Linked DNA regions of Homo sapiens: region 2 is linked to region 1. Evidence: promoter capture Hi-C in 16 types of primary human blood cells and fetal thymus (Javierre and others, 2016). All regions are on one chromosome and are shown on one strand. The core of a region is centred on a gene start or on the middle of the fragment in contact, and the rest is flanking DNA. Distances in the headings are between cores, read along the strand shown. Region 1 holds the start of GHDC (GH3 domain containing). Region 2 overlaps DNAJC7 (DnaJ heat shock protein family (Hsp40) member C7).

Region 1 (4,901 bases), core at 1,040-3,539:
GTTGCCCCCACCTCACTGCCCTTGAGTCCCACTGACCTCCCGAGGCAGCATAAGCAGGAGAGAAGAAGGCTAGTCCTTGGCACCACAAGGCCCCGAGGGCAGCCACAGCCTCGGCCTGGCCTCCTGCATCCAGAGTCACCACCACCTGCAGCTTTGGCCAGAGCCGAAGGGCCAGTCCCCGTGGCCCCTGCTCTAGGGCCTCCCGGAGCTCAGCTGCCCGTTCACGGAGAGGCGCTCCAGGGTTCCCGGCAGCTATCGCCCCAGCTAGCTCTTCACCATCAGTCTCCAGGCCCAAGAAAACATCCAGAAGTTCGACAGCCGTCCCAGCCTCCAGTGCCCTCAGCCCTGGGGACCTCAGTGCGTCCAGCAGCAGGGCCCTAGGGTCCTTGGTTCCAGGGGTGCCCACCTGGCCCAGGGTATTCCCAGGCCAAGGCAGGGGTCGGGGCCAAGGGGATGTAAGCGTCACACGGGCAGTGCGTCCCTGAGCCAGCACTTCTGGGTAGGCCTTGTTTAGGGCTGCCAGACCCAGCAAGGTGGCCTGGAGGAGGAAAGAGAGAATGTTGGTCTGGTGTCAGAGCCAGACCCAGAGCCCCCATTTGGGGGTTCTTTGCCCACCATGACTGGAGGGTTTGGCTGCAAGTCAGAGGTCTCTGGTGGGACTGGGCTGTGGCCAGGACTGGGCTCTGGCCATCCTAGATTACCTGCAGAGAGGCCTCCCCAAGGTCCTGGTTTGAGGTCGGGGGCAGTGGCTGCTCTCCACTGTCTTCCTGCTGGGTCTGGCTGGCCTTGGTCAGAGGGAGATGATTCCGGAAGGTGCTTATGTCTATAGCCCCAATGACAACAGAAACGCCTCAGGAAGCCAGTTTCCCAAGAGTTTCAGGCAAGACTGGTGAGACCCTTGAGGGAGGAACCGAGAATAGGCCTGGGGTAGAGAGGATGTAAGGACCCAGCATGGGAAATTCATCTTGGACAAGAAAGCCAGTCCTGGGTCTCTGGGTCAGGCCACTCCGTTGGCAGTGGAGGAGGTAAGGGGGCCATCAGGCTCTGGAATCTGACGGTCCTGTGGGGTTTCTTTCTCTTTGGGTCACCTCCCCAGACCCTGGGAAACACACCTGTGCTCCTTCTGAGGGAACAGTGGGGGCGCTGGGCTCCCTGTAGACACCACCTCAGGGCCTGCTGCTGGCTCTGGTGCACATGGAGCGTGCTCTGCTCCAGCCTCCGCCGCTGCCAGGTGGCTGCCCAGACCAGGGCCCCCCATGCCACTCGGTGCTGGAGGCCAGCAAGCCAGGACAGCCTGGCATCCTGGGACCGCTGCTGCCTGAGCAGGGCCAATGTTGGCAGCAGCAGCAGCAGCAGCAGCAGTGGCCACAGCAGCATCTCCAAGCAGCTCCTGGGAAGAGGAAGGAACCGAGATATGGGGGCATGCAGCAATTATCCATTTCTCCTCCCACGCTCTACTGCATACAGGAAAACCGAGGAAAAATGAAATTGGGAAGAAGGCAGGACCCTGTGGGGCAGGTGATGCAAAGGAGAGACTATCAAAGCTTTGGAGTCCCACTGACCTGAGTGCAGATCCTGCCTCTGCCGCTTGTTAGCTGTAGGGCCCTGAGCAATTTAGTGGGCTGCACTGAGCTCTGTTTCCTGATCTGCAAAATGGGAATAAGAATAAGAATGCCTCTTTCAGAAGGTAGGGGTGGGCCGGGTGAGGTGGCTATCATCTGTAATCCCAGCACTTTGGGAGGCTGAGGCAGGAGAATCACTTGAGCCCAGGAGTTTGCAACCGGCCTGAGCAACATAGGGAGACTCCATCTCTACAAAAAATTGAAAAACTAGCCCAGCGTGGTGTCACACCCATAGTCGCAGCTACTTGGGAGGCTGAGATGGGAGGATCCCTTGAGCCCAGGATGTCAAGGCTACAGTGAGCCAAGATCGTGCCACTGCACCCCAGCTTGGGCAACAGAGTGAGACCCTGTCAAAAAAAAAAAGAAAAGAAAAAAAAGGGAGAAAAGAAGGAAGAGGAAGGGAAGGTACAGGAAGGGTTTCGGACAGGGTCGGTCGGGCACACAGCAGCTGCGTAACGATATCTCTTGCCCACTCCCGAGTGGCTTTGCTTTCTCTCGGGATCCACCCTGTCCCAGCTCCTTGTCCCTCCTGAGCCCCAGGCTGTGGGGTCCATGCCCACATGCACCTGTCACAGCCCACTTCTGCCTACTCCTGGCACGTGACGGAGACCCCTGGGTGACTCTGGGTCTCAGCACACATCCGGCCAGAAAGAAGGAGCGATGGCTTTAAAAGGCTGGGCCCCAACTGGGAAATCCGGCCACCAGGCCTGAGGGAGGAGCTGAAGGAGGGGGGTGCTCTTAAAGGGGCAGGTCGCCTACAGGACTTCATGTCGGGTGCTAGCCCAGGCTGGCAGTTGGGGCAGTTAGGACCAGACTAGCATGGTCCTCAAACTTGCGCAGGTGAAGGAACAGAAAGGTGTGTGTGGGAAAGAACGCCATTAAGCCACTTGAGCTGGGAGAGGGGCAAGCTTAAGAACTCTTAAAACCCCAACTCAGCTGGGCGCGGTGGCTCACGCCTGTATTCCCAACACTTTGGGAGGCTGAGGCGGGTGGATCATCTGAGGTCAGGAGTTTGACACCAGCCTGACCAACATGGTGAAACCCCATCTCTACTAAAAATACAAAATTAGCCAGATGTGGTGGCACATGCCTGTAATCCCAGCTACTTGGGAGGCTGAGGCAGAAGAATCACTTGAACTTGGGAGGCGGAGGTTGCAGTGAGCTGAGATTGCGCCATTGTACTCCAGCCTGGGCAATGAGCGAAACTCCGTCTCAAAAACAAACAAAACAAAAACAACAACAAAAAAAACCCCATCCTCTCCCTCAAGGTAGTTGAGAAAGAAAACAATTTTATTATTGAATAAGCATTCAACCACAATGTGATGTACATGACAGGTGATCTGCTAAGAGCTTGCAAAGAAGGGAGGAAATCTTACTTTTTTGTATAGCCAAGCGCATACAACCCATTACATACACGTTTTCAAGATAAACAATAACGAGTCCTCAAGTAAGAGGACTTGTCACATATAGTTTATCTTTTTTTTTTTTTTTTTTTTTTGAGACACAGTCTTGCTCTGTTGCCCAGGCTGGAGTGCAGTGGCACAATCTCAGCTCACTGCAACCTCCACTTCCCAGGTTCAAGCGATTCTGCTGCCCCAGCCTCCCAAGCAGCTGGGATTACAGGTGTGTGCCACCACGCCCAGCTAATTTTTGTATTTTCAGTAGAGATGGGGTTTCACCATGTTGGCCAGGCTGGTCTCAAACTCTTGACCTCAAGTGATCTACCCTCCTTGGCCTCCCAAAGTGCTGGGATTACAGGTGTGAGCCACCACACCCAGCCAGTCACATAGTTTATCTTAACTTTACATGGTTATTAGGTGAACATCTGTGTTAGCTTGCTGGCTTTATCCCAAGGAAAATTACAAACTTCTTTTTTTTTGTTTTTTTGGCAGAGTTCTATTCTTGTTGCCCAGGCTGGAGTGCAATGGCACGATCTTAGCTCACTGCAACCTCCGCCTCCCAGATTCAAGCAATTCTCCTGCCTCAGCCTCCCGAGTAGCTGGGATTACAGGCACGCATCACCACACCCAGCTAATTTTTTGTATTTTTAGTAGAGACGGGGTTTCACCATGTCACCATGTTGGCCAGGCTGGTCTCAAACTCCTGACCTCAAGTGATCCACCTGCCTCGGCCTCCCAAAGTGCTGGGATTACAGGCCTGAGCCACTGCACCCAGCCAGTCACATATAGTTTATCTTAACTTTACCTGGTTACTGGGTGACCATCTGTGTTAGCCTGTTGCCTTTATCCCAAGGAAAATTACAAACTTCTCTTTTTTTGTTTTTTGTTTTTGAGACAGGGTCTTGATCTATTGCCCAGGCTGGAGTGCAGTGGTGCGATCATAGCTCACTGCAACCTCAACCTCCTGGGCTCAAGAGATCCTCCTGTCTCAGCCTCCCAAGGGACTGGAACTACAGGTACGCACCACTACGCTCAACTAATTTTATTTTTTGTAGAGACGAGAGAGCTCCCTATGTTGCCCAGGCTGGTGTGTTCTTGACCTAGGCTCTCAAAACACTAAAACCACTCCCTTTCTCCCCTTACTTGCCTCTGGATACCTTTGAGAAGAGAGCTACTACTTGCTGAGCACCTCTCTTCCCTTCACAGCTGAGCTTCTTTCAACAGGTCTGTTCTCACTCTGGCTAACTCACCTCACTTTCACGTTTTTTCTCGCTGAGATCTTGCATTTGCTTTTATTATTTATTTAAAGACAGGGTCTTGCTCTGTTGTCCAGGCTGGAGTTCAGTGGCCTGGTCACAGCTCATTGCAACCTTGAACTCCGGGGATCAAGCAATCCTCCTACCCCAGCCTCTGAGTGGCTAGGACTACAGGCATGTGCCACCACACCCAGCTAATTAAAAACATTTTTTTTTTTTTTTTGTAGAGACAGGGGGTCTTACTATGTTGCCCAGACTGGTCTGGAACTCCCGGTCTCAGCGATCCTCCTACCTTGGCCTTCCAAAGTGCTGGAATTACAGGTGTAAGCCACTAGACCTGGCCCAGTAACAGCTTTATTAGATATAATTCACACACCATACAAATCACCCATTTAGTGTACAATTCAAGATCTAGTATATCCAGAGATATGTGCAACCAACACCACAGATAATAACATTTTCCTTACCTCAAAAACAAACCCTGCAGAGTCTCTCTGAGCCTACTGTGCCTCAGGAGACTGCCCAATTCGTTAAATAAAATAAAATAAAATAAAATAAAATAAAATAAAATAAAATAAAATAAAAAACCCCAAACTCAGGCTGGGCGTGGTGGCTCACACCTA
Region 2 (4,901 bases), core at 642-3,141, 190 kb before region 1:
TTTGGTCGTCCCCCAGGCTGGAGTGCAACGGCAGGATCTCAGCTCACTGCAACCTCCACCTCCTGGGTTCAAGCGATTCTCCTGCCTCAGCCTCCCTAGTAGCTGGGATTACAGGCACGCACCACCACACCCAGCAAATTTTTGTATTTTGTAGAGACAGGGTTTCACCATGTTAGCCAGGCCGGTCTCAAACTCCTGACTTTAGGTGATCTGCCTGCCTTGGCCTTCCAAAGTGCTGGGATTATAGGCGTGAGCCACTGAGCCTGGCCTATTTTTTTTATCTTTTTGAGATGAAGTCTTGCTTTGTTGCCCAGGTTGGAGTGCAGTGGCACAATCTTGGCTCACTGCAACTTCTACCTCCCGAGTTCAGGCAATTCTCCTGCCTCAGCCTCCCAAGTAGCTGGGATTACAGGTGCCCGCCACCAGGCCCAGCTAATTTTTGTATTTTTAGTAGAGACAGGGTTTCGTCATGTTGGCCAGAGTGGTCTGAAACCCCTGATCTAAAGTGATCCGCCTGCTTTGGCCTCCCAAAGTGCTGGGATTACAGGCATGAGCCACTGAGCCTGGCCTATTTTTTTTATCTTTTTGAGATGAAGTCTTGCTTTGTTGCCCAGGTTGGAGTGCAGTGGCACAATCTTGGCTCATTGCAACCTCTACCTCCCGAGTTCAGGCAATTCTCCTGCCTCAGCCTCCCAAGTAGCTGGGATTACAGGTGCCCGCCACCAGGCCCAGCTAATTTTTGTATTTTCAGTAGAGACGGGGTTTCGTCATGTTGGCCAGAGTGGTCTGAAACCCCTGATCTAAAGTGATCCTCCTGCTTTGGCCTCCCAAAGTGCTGGGATTACAGGCGTGAGCCACCAGGACTTGGCAGCTACTTTTAATAATATTTGGCAAGTAAATGTTTTCTAGCGTAAGTATCAGTTCTTTCTCACCTATGGCTTTTGTATAATAATTATAAGCTTCATTGTAATCTTTCTTGGCATAGTATGCATTTCCTTGTTCCTTGAAAGTCTCTGCTTCCCTGAAAATGAAAGAGAAAGAGAATCATGTTACTTTACAAAGGGAATAACCTCTGTAATCTTACAGGAGGAATCTTTGGTCTAGAGCCCGCAGCACACTGAGCTGAAAGTTAGTGTGATACTTGAAGGATTTATAGATTTGTTGAATAGGCCAATGGACCAAAAGGAGGTGCTAATGAAAGAATCCAAGTTCTTCAGATGCTCCTTTTTGTCACTTAGATACATTCAAACTAAATCAAGAAAACCCCTCTTATGTTCCTGCCTCACCTCACTATTTCTGCCTGTAGTCATCCTCCCCGCAGGACAAATTTAGACATTCCCTCATGGCAAGGAATTTTTCTATCTCCTTCCACAGTGTCACAACTGCTGCCTCTTTTGCAAACTTACAGGAAAAATGGTTACTCCATTCAGGGCAACTTATTTCTCAATGTGAAATAGGTCACATCCTCAAGAGTTTTAATAATTTCACCTCCTGAAAAGTGGCTCATGCATTTGTCACTGGAAGAACAAGCAGAGCAAAGGCAGGTGGCAAAAGAGTTAAAAGCATAGCATGTTGGTGTTTAAGACAGGAACAGAGCTGAGTGACAGCAGAGACTAAGACCGTGGATGACAGGGACATATGAGGTACAGGATGCCAGTGCCATACTATAAGGAGCACCCATCCACTGGTGTTCCCTCTTCCCATCACAACAATGTAGGTACTTGCTGCCCTCTTTGTACTCCCTCCAGTACCTTATATATTCAGCAACTGGGTGATAGCAGTATTTTTTCCCTACCTCTAAGATCTATTTTTTGAAACTGTGCCATTAGACAAAGTATACTTTCCTAAACTTTGTCCTAAAGGAACAATGTTATATAATTGGGAATTAGATTCCCGAGCAAGTACCTAGAATCAAATCAGACATGACCAACAGTGTTTTAAAAGAACTAGTAACCTCTATCAAGATACTCAAAATCATTCCACTGCTCAAGTGATAAAGATAATTCTTTACTGAAATGATTACTGCAACATTAACTAAGTACCTGATCATTTTTGTTATGAGAAACATCTTTCTTTTCCTGTTGTTCACATGCAAAAAAGAACCTAGTTCGGGGTTGCCTGAAGTTGAGGCAAAAGTCCTAGTTCTTAAACCTTGGTGATGGTACAGCAATTTACAGCTTGAGTCTACGGATATCTGCATTAGGGAGATTTGTGATTTACTTAAGTATTTTAAACTACAAACTGGTAAAGTCGCCCTCCTTTTATTGAGGTGATCCTCCCTCTCCATTCTTCTCCATCACTGTCCTGGCAAGCCCTACTAATATGAAAAGGCTGCTAGAAGGAGAAGGCAAATGGGAATGACCTATAAATGCTGACAGCTGTGAAATGTGATGGATATAAATCTGCTTGAGTAACTGTCTATACCAACTATCACAATGCTGAAAAGAGGCCTTCTGCTATGAAAAATCTTCAAGAAAGATCCCCCAATTGCAAGATTTAAAGAACCAACTGAAATCTTGCTACATGGTATTCACCATCCTGTAACTCTAAATTAAGCAAAGTGCTTATAAAAACTCTCAGGAGCCTATCCTTTAAGAGCAGACATGCCAAGGGATTTGAACAAAGGACTTCCCCAAAACTGGATTTCGATTAGTCAAACTGCTGTGAAGAAATGGAGTAGCAAATTCCAAAGTAAGACATTAGGCCCAAACTCCATCAGAGAAGATCTAGCCTCTTCTTCAGTTGGCTAGTGGCTAAGAATATACAAATCTTTGAGGAAAACGAAGACATCTAGGTACCTGGGGAGACACTGTGTCAGCAGTATAAAGCTTGTTAGTCGAAAGTGAAATAATGTACAGGGCTGCTGAAAGGTGCCCCTAGTCTCCTCCTTCCTAAGACACTACCCCTATGGAGGTCGGGGAGTTCAGGACTGGCTTCTAGAAAAAATGCAAAGGATGATTTTGGTGGACAGTTACTAATAACTACTGAGGCCAGGTACTTTCCATACAGTATCCTCTATAAAACACAGTCCGGTGAACTTCATTATTCCCATTTTTCAAAAGAGGAAATAAGGCCTGGGGGTTAAATAACTTGCCTGAGGTCAGGATGTTACCCATGTTTGTCAGAATACAAAGCTTGTGCACTTTCTACTATGCCAAGCTTTCTCTCTAATGCTTGCCTCCGCTTACTGCTAACTATTTTGAAAATTAGTCTGTACTACGAGGAGTAAGACATGGACAATATATGTAAGACATGGACAATACATATAAATTTGTTTAAACTAAGACACACAGTACACCCCACATGTAATATTCAACCCCAGAACCAAAATCGGTATTTAAATAAGCTAAATGACATTCCTAACAATTAGTCATAGAGGAAGCAGGGCTCCTTTCTCTTTAAGATGCAAGACCTAGTGAACTGGACTTTGCCTCCCCAAAGAAATGCATTTCATTTTAGTAAATGGTGAGTAGATTCCATTCTAGAGCAAACAAAGCAAGTAATGTAGAGTCAGCCCACAGCAAAAAGAACAAGAAGAATTGTGTTGTGACAAGTTGCCATGTTTTTAACCTCACACTGCACAGCATCAGGCCAGAATTAGCTATTCCCACACAACTGCCTCATGAAAAGGACTTATTTTCATAGAAACGTGGCTGATTAACAGCTGCCTAAACAATGGGCACTTAGTGCTTTTAGACTGAACGCTTATTTTTTGCCTTCAGGTCCAATGCCCAAAGTGGACTGGAGTCCCTCCTTCATTTTGAACCTCCCCACCAAATACACAACAAGCTTTAACCAGTGGGCCTGACCCTGCGAGACCAGTCGAGGAAAGAGTGGATCTTTGGAATCCAGCATGGCAGCAGCAAGAACTGAACAAGGCTGCATCAGGAACAATTCCAGTGTCAAATCCATTCAAGTCCTGCCCTGGAAGTCTGAGAAAGGGCTGAAGCTTGTTCAAGTTGCCTTTACAGCAAAGGGACTGAAGGATGAGATGTCAAAGGCGTGGGACTGGAAAAAAAGGAGAAGAGCTGGTTAACACTGGAATTGAAGGCAATCTGGTGGTGGCATCTGTCACTCACTCACTGCCAGGGTCAATTCATCTGATAGCCAAGTGAGGTTGTAACATGCACCTACTGAAACACACCAGTACTGAGAAAAGAAGACTTAGGATTAATTGGCTTCACCTAGACCAATTAAAAAAAAAAAGGATTCCCAATGCACTAAATTAAACTACAGATTATTTTCTGTGGCTACAAAATTAAATTCAGATTAAACTCTTAAATATAATACCACAGCAAAATATAGACTTGGCCATAACTGACCTGATGGTACTATTAACAACTACAATATATTTCTAGTGTTATTTCAGATTTTCGAAGCATTTCCAATGAAGATTTTCAATTTTTTTTTTTTTTTTTTTTTTTTAGATGGAGTCTAACTCTTTTGCCCAGGCTGGAGGGCAGTGGCATGAACTCGGTTCACTGCAGCCTCTGCCTCCTGGGTTCAAGTGTTCTCTCGCCTTAGCCTCCCGAGTAGCTGGGATTACAGGCATGTGCCACCATGCCCAGCTATTTTTTGTATTTTTAGTAGAGACGGGGTTTCATCATGTTGGCCAGACTGGTCTCAAACTCCTGACTGCAAATGATCCGCCTGCCTAGACCTCTCAAAGTGCTAGTAGGATTAAAGGCGTCAGCCACCACGCCTGGCCAAGATTTTCAAATGGCCTTCTGAGGTGGTTATGGCAATAATTTCACCTATCCTCCAACAGAGGAAGAGCTAGTGAGGCAACCAAGATGGCTGCACAGGTCTCCTAAGTCCTAGAAGTTTATGTTTTCCCCCACATCCTGTTAGTGTCAAGGCTTTTAGATTAAAACTAATTTATCCAGTTCTCCCACCAAATC

The links. Contacts are between HindIII fragments. The CHiCAGO score rates a contact against its expected background, and 5 or more counts as called.
Region 2: a contact is called between a fragment that was not itself captured here and the fragment with the promoter of GHDC in region 1, in 1 of 17 cell types (endothelial precursors). The highest score is 5.2, in endothelial precursors.

The regions. Positions count from the first base shown.
Region 1 is chr17:42,192,205-42,197,105 of GRCh38, forward strand. GHDC (GH3 domain containing) reads right to left here and starts at 2,290. Exons shown (of 10, transcript NM_032484.5): 1 at 2,189-2,290; 2 at 1,563-1,646; 3 at 1,113-1,390; 4 at 702-823; 5 at 37-538. The coding sequence starts at 1,377. RefSeq lists enhancers at 778-1,308, 2,203-2,432. The HindIII fragment of the contact is 986 bases long and covers 1,543-2,528 here.
Region 2 is chr17:41,999,550-42,004,450 of GRCh38, forward strand. DNAJC7 (DnaJ heat shock protein family (Hsp40) member C7) reads right to left here. Exons shown (of 14, transcript NM_003315.4): 2 at 933-1,021. Among named protein-coding and RNA genes, the nearest start is that of DNAJC7, 15 kb to the right of the region's middle. The HindIII fragment of the contact is 1,869 bases long and covers 958-2,826 here.